Regions from separate parts of the Homo sapiens genome. Here region 2 is linked to region 1. Evidence: promoter capture Hi-C in 16 types of primary human blood cells and fetal thymus (Javierre and others, 2016). All regions are on one chromosome and are shown on one strand. The core of a region is centred on a gene start or on the middle of the fragment in contact, and the rest is flanking DNA. Distances in the headings are between cores, read along the strand shown. Region 1 holds the start of ZHX3 (zinc fingers and homeoboxes 3). Region 2 overlaps ZHX3 (zinc fingers and homeoboxes 3).

What was found. Contacts are between HindIII fragments. The CHiCAGO score rates a contact against its expected background, and 5 or more counts as called.
Region 2: a fragment that was not itself captured here is called in contact with the fragment with the promoter of ZHX3 in region 1 in 9 of 17 cell types (naive CD4 T cells, naive CD8 T cells, total CD8 T cells and 6 more); the score reaches 11.2 in naive CD4 T cells.

Annotation. Positions count from the first base shown.
Region 1 is chr20:41,315,022-41,320,137 of GRCh38, reverse strand. ZHX3 (zinc fingers and homeoboxes 3) reads left to right here and starts at 2,407. Exons shown (of 4, transcript NM_001384317.1): 1 at 2,407-2,629. RefSeq lists an enhancer at 1,978-2,027 and silencers at 2,138-2,587, 2,598-2,887. The HindIII fragment of the contact is 7,702 bases long and covers 1-4,662 here.
Region 2 is chr20:41,234,070-41,239,185 of GRCh38, reverse strand. All of the region lies in intron 2 of ZHX3 (zinc fingers and homeoboxes 3), which reads left to right. Among named protein-coding and RNA genes, the nearest start is that of MIR6871, 68 kb to the right of the region's middle. The HindIII fragment of the contact is 2,854 bases long and covers 922-3,775 here.

The DNA of each region.
Region 1 (5,116 bases), core at 1,158-3,657:
AGCTGGGATTACAGGTGCGCCTCACTATGCCTGGCTAATTTTTGTATTTTGAGTAGAGATGGGGTTTCACCATGTTGGTCAGGCTGGTCTCGAACTCCTGACCTCAGATGATTCATCCACCTAAGCCTCCCAAAGTGCTGGGATTACAGGCGTGAGCCACTGTGCCCGGCCAGAAGTATTTTTTTTACATGACTGTTTCCTCTGAAATACTGTTCCTCAAAGGTCGGGAGAATACCTCATTTTTCTCAGGATCCCACTGTGCCTGGATCAAAATAGATGCTCAGAAAAGTTTGTTGAATAAATGAAGTTGTATTGGAGCAGTATAACCTATATACATTCTCATTCATCCCAGAAATACTTATTGAGTACCTGAACATGTCGACCCATGTTCTAGATGTTGAAGATGGGAAAAACAAAGTTCCCACCTTCAGAGATATTATAGATGATATTCAGGTTAGAAGGGCTAGGCAGAAAAGTAAAGCAGGCTTAGAGGATAGTGATTGGAGTTGGGACTTGATACTTTAGTAGAGTGGTCTGGGAAAGTCTGGGGAGGTGACTTTTGAGTAGAAACTTGGAAAGCACACGCCTTTCTGATATCTGGAGGAAGCAACACCAAGTACAGAGGTTCTGAAGTAGAAGTGAGCCTCCATATTCCAGGAGCAAGAAGGAGGCTAGTGTGCCTGGCATGCAATGAGGAGGCCGAGTGGAAGGAGGTGCAGTTAGAGAGGTGGAGAGTATAAGTGGACGAAGGGCAGACACATAGGATCTTGGAAGCCTTTGGGAAAAAAACCACATTTTGGAAATGAAAAAAATAGGTGGGCATGGTGGCGTGCACCTGTAGTCCTAGCTACCTGGGAGGCTGAGGTGGGAGGATTGCTTGAGTTTGGGAGGTTGAGGCTGCAGTGAGCTGTGATGGGGCCACTGCACTCTAACCTGGGAGACAGAGTGAGACTGTGTCCCACTCTCCACCCCACTGCCCCCATATTTTTTTTTTTTTGGCTTTTACTCTGAGATGGGAAACCTTCTGGGGGCTTTTGAGCTTAGGTTTCAACAGGATCCCTCTGGCTTCTGTGTTGAGAGAAGGCACCATGAGAGCACAGTGGAATCGTGGAGAACAGGCAGGAGGCTACTACAATATTCCAGGAAAGAGGAAAAGGGGTATTTTAAAGGTAGAGCTGACAGGCTTTTCTAATGGGTTGCATGTGGGATATGATAGGGAGAGTGGAGTCCAGGATGACTCCAATGGTTTGTCTGGAGTCATCAGAAGAATGGAGTTGACATGAACTGAGGTAGGGAAGGTTGTGAAAGGAGCAAGCTAAGGTGCCACGTATGGGTGTTTGACTATCGACTTGTTTACTTGGACACATCGCTCACACTTGTGTATATGCTCCCTGGTTTTCAGGATCTGAAGGTTCTAAAGTTACTTGAAGTTAAAGGCAGCCTTACTTATTGAACACCAAGCACTGTGCAGAAATCTTTATATGTGGTGTCATTTAACCCTTTTAATATTTCTACTGATTTACTCATGTTTCATTGCCCTTTTACAGTTGAGAGATTAACACGTCCAAAGTCACTCAGACAATTATTAACCTGCTAGATTAATGCAGATCTGGGATTCCCATCCAGGTGTGTCAAGACCGTAGAGCTCCTGCTGTTTACTAATCACTGGATTCTAAAGGTGGGAGCCACTTTCTGAGCATATTTGCTGCAGACTTGGTTCCATAACTAAAAAGGTGCCTGGATCATGTGACGAGAATTCAGGAAAGAACCCAACCCCATCCCAGGCATTACAGGTTATACAACAGCTATGAAGAAAGGACGGTATTAGTGGACTCGAGGAGGCTGACTGATGTTTGAAAGTTCAAGTACTTGAAGACTCAATGTTAAAACAGTGATCAAGAGTTAGTTTTTTTGTTATTATTCTTAAGAAAACAGAAAATATTAAAAATTGCAGTGAACCCTTGGTTGGATAAAAGACCACTCCTAGTCGACGCTTGTTGGGAAACACTGGAATTGGAGGAGTGGGGGCAGACAGGAGCGAGAGCCCCTGCCAGCCTACACACACATCCTTTTGAAAGTGTAACCTGGTGTGACCTTCTTTAAGTGGTCCTCTGGAAAGAGCAGGATATGGAGTACAAAAGCCAGGAACCTCTGGGACCGCAGCATCCGCCCCCAGCGCCTCCTTCCCCGTCTTCTTCAGCCTCCACACGGTGGGGCGGGGAGGAGGGGGGAGGAGGAGTGCTGGCGCATGCGCCGGGGGCAAGGTCCGCTCCCCGCGACGTCAGGGGGCTCGCACCCGCTCGAAAGCCCCGCCCCGCGGCCGCCAGAGGCGACCTGGGCGGACTGGGGGGCCTGGGCCACGCCCCCAGCCGAGTCGAGCAAGGCCGAGGGGAGCCGTGCAAGGCCGAGCAGAGCCGAGCGCCTCCGAGAGCGGCCGAGCCCAGCCGAGCGGCCCGGAGTCGGTTGGTGCAGCTGCGTCCCCGCCGCTCAGCAGTCCGCGGCTCCGGCGTCGCCGCCGCCGCCGCCTCTGCGGGGCCTGCGCCGGCCGCCCGCCCGGCCGCGGGGAGGGAGGCCCGCAGCGCGGGAAGAGCGGCCCGGTCGCGGGCGCCGCCACCGCCGCCGCTGCCAGGTGAGCGCCCGCCACGGCCAGCCGGCCCCGCGTGCCCCCGCGGCTGTCAGTCCCCGGTGTCTGTATCTCTCTCTGCCTGTCAGACCCTGTGTCTGCGCGAGCTCCTTCCCGCCACGCCTGGCCCGCGGCCGGCCCGCAGTCTCAGTCAGCCCCCTCCCGCCGGCTGCCCCTGGTCTTTCTGTCAGCCGCCAGCACCCCCATGCTGAGAGGCTCCGCCCCTTCCCCCCGGAGCCCCGCCCTCCGCCATCTGTCATCACCCCCCGGGCTCCAGGAGCGGGCGTCCAGGGGTCCTAGGGGTCAGGGTAGCCCCGCGTGCCACCATCGTAGAAGGCGCAAAAGGGGGTGGTAGAGGGGAAGCGGGGGCGTTCGCGCAGGCCCGCCTGACCGTGTGAGAGTGCATGCCCGAGTGTGCGTTCCGCGTGTGCACCCGAGAGCCGCCTGCGTCCACGCCCGAGGGCCCTTGCACTCTGCTGGGATGTGGCAGCCCATGCCCCCGGTGTAAAGAGCGTCAGCTCGACCAGTGAAGGCGGCAGAGCCAGGACTCGAACCACTCGGGGTACAGTAGCACCCTGAATCTTGGGACCCTTGTCTGCCCACGCGAAAACACTACACGTGGGCCCCAGGTCCTCGGATTCCCTGAGTGGCGTGTGAGTGGAGTTTGGAGCTTGTTAAGCCTTCCCAGTTTGGGATTTTCATTCAGGGAAGCCTGTTGGAAGTGATTGAGGAGTGGATGGGATGTAGGACTTAGGTGGGGAGTGTTTGAGGGCTTGAGTCATTTTGAGTTGCATGGTTTACATTTCTGAGCAGTGATTGCCCTGGGCTTGTGCCCTGCGAGAAACTTATGTGACTTGGGGTGGGGGAGTGAGGTAGGAAGGAATGCTCCTTTCTGTTTTTATCTATGTGAACACATAGTATATATTTATCCAGATATCCTAAATGTTTATTCATGAGGCGTCCACACGTCCTTAATTTAAAAAAGGATTACAGTAGTTTCCATTTATACACGTTCTTGTGTGTTGTTATCTCAATGCTCTTTATTTGTGGTAACTTAGTATTGCAATATTTCAAAACTAAGAGAAAATGCATCCTAAAACAATTGGTATTTTGCCGGATAATTCTGAACCACGGAGAAGGAGCCAAAAGCGCACTTCATTAGCTGGAACAACTTATTCGAGCTTAATTTGTTTCTAAGAGACATACAGTGGAAAAATCCAGAAGCGCAAAATAGTATCAAAGACACATAGAAAATGAATGAAAAGGGCCCTTCTGTTGCTGCCTTGGAAAGATGGTATCAAAGTTGCTGTAGAGGACAGAGCCACTATGTAATGATCAACATATTAACCAAGTTGGTTTTGTGACCTTGATACATTGAGCGGGGCTTGATTTGTGCAGTGGTTCATGACAGGCAAACATTGCATGGGAAGTGTGGTAATTTTTGGAAAAAAATGTTCCCCATGTTGTTTTGGTTTTTGGTTTTGAGTTTGTTTTTTTTTTTTTCATATTGAAGTAAGATTTCAGACAAGGGAAGTCTCATGGTGGAGTGCTTTTTTCTTTTTAAAGATAACATTAAAAATTACCAAAGTAATTCATGTTTAAGGCAGAAAACTTGAAAAACAAAGAAAAGCATTGCAAACAAAACAAAACAAAAAAAACCCCATAATCCCACAAACCATAGTAAATCACAATTTGGTATTAAGCCTTTTAGCCTTGTTCCCATGTATACGTGTTTTTTCTTACAAAAATGCTATCATACTACACAACTTTTATTCTATGCTTTTTTTCTTTGACTTATAACTAGATTATGAGAGATACATCTTTGTTTTATGAGTAGGAACTTGTGTTTCTCTTTGCAATCCTTTAAAAAATTCAGATCATGTTAGTCCTCTGCTTAGAGCCCTCCAATAGCTTTTTGTCTTAAAGTAAACTCTGAAGGCCTTGCTGTGGCCTGCCAGGCTAACCCTCTTCCGAACAACCATCCTCACTTCGAGCCTTGCCAGACAGATCTCTTTGCTGTTTCTTAAAAACATCAAGCTTACACTTGTAATCACAGCACTTTGGGAGGCCGAGGCGGGCGGATCACGAGGTCAGGAGTTCGAGACCAGCCCGGCCAGCATGGTGACACCCCGTCTCTACTAAAAAAAAAAAAAAAAAAAAAAAAAAAAGCCAGGCCTGGTGGTGCGTGCCTGTAATCCCAGCTACTCAGGAGGCTGAGGCAGGAGAATTGCTTGAACCCGGGATGCGGAGGTTGCATTGAGCCAAGATCACACCACCGCACTCCAGCCTGGGAGACAGAGCGAGACTCTGTCTCAAAAAAGTCAAGCATACTCCAGCCTCAGTGCCTTTGCATTTGCTGTTCCCTCCGCCTAGAACTCTGGTCCCTGGATATTAACATAGTTGACTCCCTTACTTCAGGTCTCTGCTCAAAAGTTAGGTTGTCTGGCTTTGCTTGACTGCATTATCAAATACACCCCATTTCCCTGTTGTTCT
Region 2 (5,116 bases), core at 1,099-3,598, 81 kb after region 1:
ATACAAAAAAAAAAAATTAGCGGGGCATGGTGGTGGGCGCCTATAGCCCCAGCTACTCGGGAGGCTGAGGCAGGAGAATGGCGTGAACCCAGGAGGCGGAGCTTGCAGTGAGCCGAGATCATGCCACTGCACTCCAGCCTGGGCGACAGAGCAAGACTCCGTCTCCCAAAAAAAAAAAAAAAAAAAAAAAAAAGAGAGAGAAAATAGGCCCTTGTTTTCATCATAGAGCAACTGACTCAAACTCAACCTGAAGCCGCTGAACTTTCCATTTGCATGTGCCAGCAAACCACCTTTATTATGTAAGCCCTTTCAAATTAGGTTTCTTACTTGCATCTTAGAATCCAAATGGTGCTTAATAGATACATTTCCTTGTATTTTGTGTGTTTTAGTGATTCTAACCCATGGACCAAGACCCTGCCTTGGAGATTGGGGAACAGGTGTTGGAAGGGCTCTATTTTGGCAAAGAATGGATTATTTATGTGAGCATATTTCCGCAAAGTAAGGAAATGTCTTGCCTATATATGTATTAATATTTTTCAAATTTATCTTGTTTTGATGAAATATAAATTTAGATAAAAATACTAAAAATACTGAATTTGTAGGTTTTTATCCTGCATTTTTCACAATGAGCAGATGTTAGAAGCATCATGTAAATTTGTCCAAAAAGATGTTGTTTTTTGCAGAAATTTTTGACTTGAGGAAGAAGCTCTTGCTTAGATAGATGTTTCCACCCTCTGTCCCTCCTTCTTTTCCTTCCTTCTTCTCTTCTCCAGCCTTCACTCCCTGCTGCCTTCCTTTTTTTCCCTCTTAGTCTCTGTTATTACCCTGTTTTCCTTCTGTTGAGTCTTGTTACTCAAACTCTGTTAGAAATAGTTGAGATATAAATTCTAATTAATTTTATTTGGATGCCTATGTTAAGCTTCATTTAACTTTTCAGATCCTGCATCTATGAGTTCGACATAAATGCAAACAAATAATGGGTATTGAGTGCTTTAATAGCAAGGGACCCAAACTGAAGTTCATTCCCCATGCAACAAATTGGGTGTTGGATGGGAATGCTTATAATGATTGACCCCGGTTTTTGGTAGTAAGCAAGCAACTGCAAGTGAACTGTAACTGATGTATTTAATGAGTGCTCACTGTGTGCACATTGCCATTAGTGTAGCTGAGTGGTGCAGCACTGAACCCTTACCTCAAAGATCTTATAGTTCATTGGAGAGAAGAGACATGTACACCAGATACTGTGTAAGCCAGGGCTGTGTTTTATAAGGGAATATGTAAGTTGACATCTGGAACCTCTTTCTTAGAATTATCCTACCAGAAGAGCCCTCTAGAACCTTGTGTTTAATAAATATTGATCACCGCCATTATAAAATATGCTGTTTGTTAATAAAACATATTTTCTTTATTTTATTTTATTTTTTTAATTATACTTTAAGTTTTAGGGTACATGTGCACAACGTGCAGGTTTGTTACATATACATGTGCCATGTTGGTGTGCTGCACCCATTAGCTCTTCATTTAACATTAAGTATATCTCCTAATGCTATCCCTCCCCACTCCTCCTACCCCACAACAGGCCCTGGTGAGTGATGTTCCCCTTCCTGTGTCTGTGTGTTCTCATTGTTCAATTCCCACCTATGAGTGAGAACATGCGGTGTTTGGTTTTTTGTCCTTGCGATAGTTTGCTGAGAATGATGGTTTCCAGCTTCATCTATGTCCTTACAAAGGACATGAACTCATCATTTTTTATGGCTGCATAGTATTCCATGGTGTATATGTGCCACATTTTCTTAATCCAGTCTATCTTTGTTGGACATTTGGGTTGGTTCCAAGTCTTTGTTATTGTGAATAGTGCCGCAATAAACATACATGTGCATGTGTCTTTATAGCAGCATGTTTTATAATCCTTTGGGTATATACCCAGTAATGGGATGGCTGGGTCAAATGGCATTTCTAGTTCTAGATCCCTGAGGAATCGCCACACTGACTTCCACAATGGTTGAACTAGTTTACAGTCCCCCCAACAGTGTAAAAGTGTTCCTATTTTTCCAGATCCTCTCTAGCACCTGTTGTTTCCTGACTTTTTAATGATTGCCATTCTAACTGGTGTGAGATGGTATCTCATTGTGGTTTTGATTTGCATTGCTCTGATAGCCAGTGATGATGAGCATTTTTTCATGTGTCTTTTGGCTGCATAAATGTCTTCTTTTGAGAAGTGTCTGTTCATATCCTTTGCCCACTTGTTGATGGGGTTGTTTTTTTCTTGTAAATTTGTTTGAGTTCTTTGTGGATTCTGGATATTAGCCCTTTGTCAGATGGGTAGATTGCAAAAATTTTCTCCCATTCTGTAGGTTGCCTGTTCACTCTGATGGTAGTTTCTTTTGCTTTGTAGAAGCTCTTCAATTAGATCCCATTTGTCAATTTTGGCTTTTGTTGCCATTGCTTTTGGTGTTTTAGACATGAAGTCCTTGCCCATGCCTATGTCCTGAATGGTATTGCCTAGGTTTTCTTCTAGGGTTTTTATGGTTTTACGTCTAACATTTAAGTCTTTAATCCATCTTGAATTAATTTTTGTATAAGGTGTAAGGAAGGGATCCAGTTTCAGCTTTCTACATATGGCTAGCCCGTTTTCCCAGCACCGTTTATTAAATAGGGAATCCTTCCCCCATTTCTTGTTTTTGTCAGGTTTGTCAAAGATCAGATGGTTGTAGATATGTGGCATTATTTCTGAGGGCTCTGTTCTGTTCCATTGGTCTACATCTCTGTTTTGGTACCAGTACCATGCTGTTTTGGTTACTGTAGCCTTGTAGTATAGTTTGAAGTCAGGTAGCATGATGCCTCCAGCTTTGTTCTTTTGGCTTAGATTGACTTGGCAATGCGGGCTCTTTTTTGGTTCCATATGACCTTTAAAGTAGTTTTTTCCAATTCTGTGAAGAAAGTCATTGGTAGCTTGATGGGGTTGGCATTGAATCTGTAAATTACCTTGGACAGTATGGCCATTATCACGATATTGATTCTTCCTACCCATGAGCATGGAATGTTCTTCCATTTGTTTGTATCCTCTTTTATTTCATTGAGCAGTGGTCTGTAGTTCTCCTTGAAGAGGTCCTTCACATCCCTTGTTAGTTGGATTCCTAGGTATTTTATTCTCTTTGAAGCAATTGTGAATGGGAGTTCACTCATGATTTGGCTCTCTGTTTGTCTGTTATTGGTGTATCGGAATGCTTGTGATTTTTGCACATTGATTTTGTATGCTGAGACTTTGCTGAAGTTGCTTATCAGCTTAAGGAGATTTTGGGCTGAGATGATGGGGTTTTCTAGATATACAATCATGTCATCTGCAAACAGGGACAATTTGACTTCCTCTTTTCCTAATTGAATACCCTTTATTTCCTTCTCCTGCCTGATTGCCCTGGCCAGAACTTCCAACACTATGTTGAATAGGAGTGGTGAGAGAGGGCATTCCTGTCTTGTGCCAGTTTTCAAAGGGAATGCTTCCAGTTTTTGCCATTCAGTATGATATTGGCTGTGGGTTTGTCATAGATAGCTCTTACTATTTTGAGATACGTCCCATCAATACCTAATTTATTGAGAGTTTTTAGCATTAAGGGCTGTTGAATTTTGTCAAAGGCCTTTTCTGCATCTATTGAGATAATCATGTGGTTTTTGTCTTTGGTTCTGTTTATATGATGGATTACATTTATTGATTTGCATATGTTGAACCAGCCTTGCATCCTAGGTATGAAGCCAACTTGGTCATGGTAGATAAGCTTTTTGATGTGCTGCTGGATTCGGTTTGCCAGTATTTTATTGAGGATTTTTGCATCGATGTTCATCAGGGATATTGGTCTAAAATTCTCTTTTTTTATTGTGTCTCTGCCAGGCTTTAGTATCAGGATAATAAAACATGTTTTCTATTCTACCTTTTTCTTGGCCATGTTTTTTAGCTATACACAGCCGGTTTTTTTGTTTGTTTGTTTTGTTGTTGTTGTTTGCCATAGAACCAACATTTTGGCACTACCCCCCACTCCCAGCCATGTGTGCACATACACACACACACACCGAGTTTGCTGCAAGTACAGCATTACAATAATTCAAAATTATAACTGTCTCTCATGGAAAAGAGGCTGCCTGCTGGTTTGGCATGGGGATAAGTGAACTAGCTGAACTATACTCATTTCCTACTAAACAATGTATAGCTGAATGCAAGTGAGAGAGACTTACAAGGACAACCTTGAACTATCTGCCAGTTTGTTCAAAACAAAACCAAAGAAACTTACCAACTCTTGTATTTCATGTCAGCAGTGACAAAGGCTTACTGAGCTCCCCAGTAGGTGCCTGGCCCTGCATGCTGCTTCTAGAATGCCAGCAGGAAGGCCTGGCCGAGCAGCCAGCTGGCTGTGGAGCCCTTATTCTAAGACTATGCTGCCACTTTCTTGTGACACTGGAGTCAAAAGCAAAAAGGGGCTTGCAGCCAGTAACCAAAGGGCTGTATTCAAGCAGTGACCTATTTTTACACTGTAATCGGGTTGGGTTTCCCTTTTTCCCTCGCGAGGCAGTAATCTCAAATTCTTCTGAGTGCTCAAGAAGCCAGTTCCCTGTTACCTTTTTGGCTTAGTTGTTTTTCACTTTGACATAGGTCACTCTTAACTTGAGGACAGGAATATCTGTCCCTTTTCCCTGATTTGAGGGTAGGAGTTGGTTTATGTGTATAAAATGGAGAGATAGGAAAACATGAACCAAGGTAAGGAGGATAGATGGCTTCTGAGGAGGAACAAAACCAGGTGAACTAGATAGACAAAGGTATTTGGGATCATAGGTCCAAGGTTCTGCCCTTTCAAACCCTAATCACACATATGAACTAATTACTTAGCTTAGTCATCAAATTTTGCTTGTGCTTCATATGTGCTGAGTGTCAGAGGCGTAGTAATAAAAAGGTAGAACTCTTGCCTCAGCCCACAGTTTTGTGGGGGAGGAATCTTGTACCCACAATTGCAATGCAGTGCCACCAGTGCAACAGGGAAGTTGGGCCCGAGTGAGGCTGTTAGATGTTGCTGGGGAGGGGGCACCAAGAAGGGTATCAGAGGAATTCCTCCTAAGCTTCTTAGTCAGA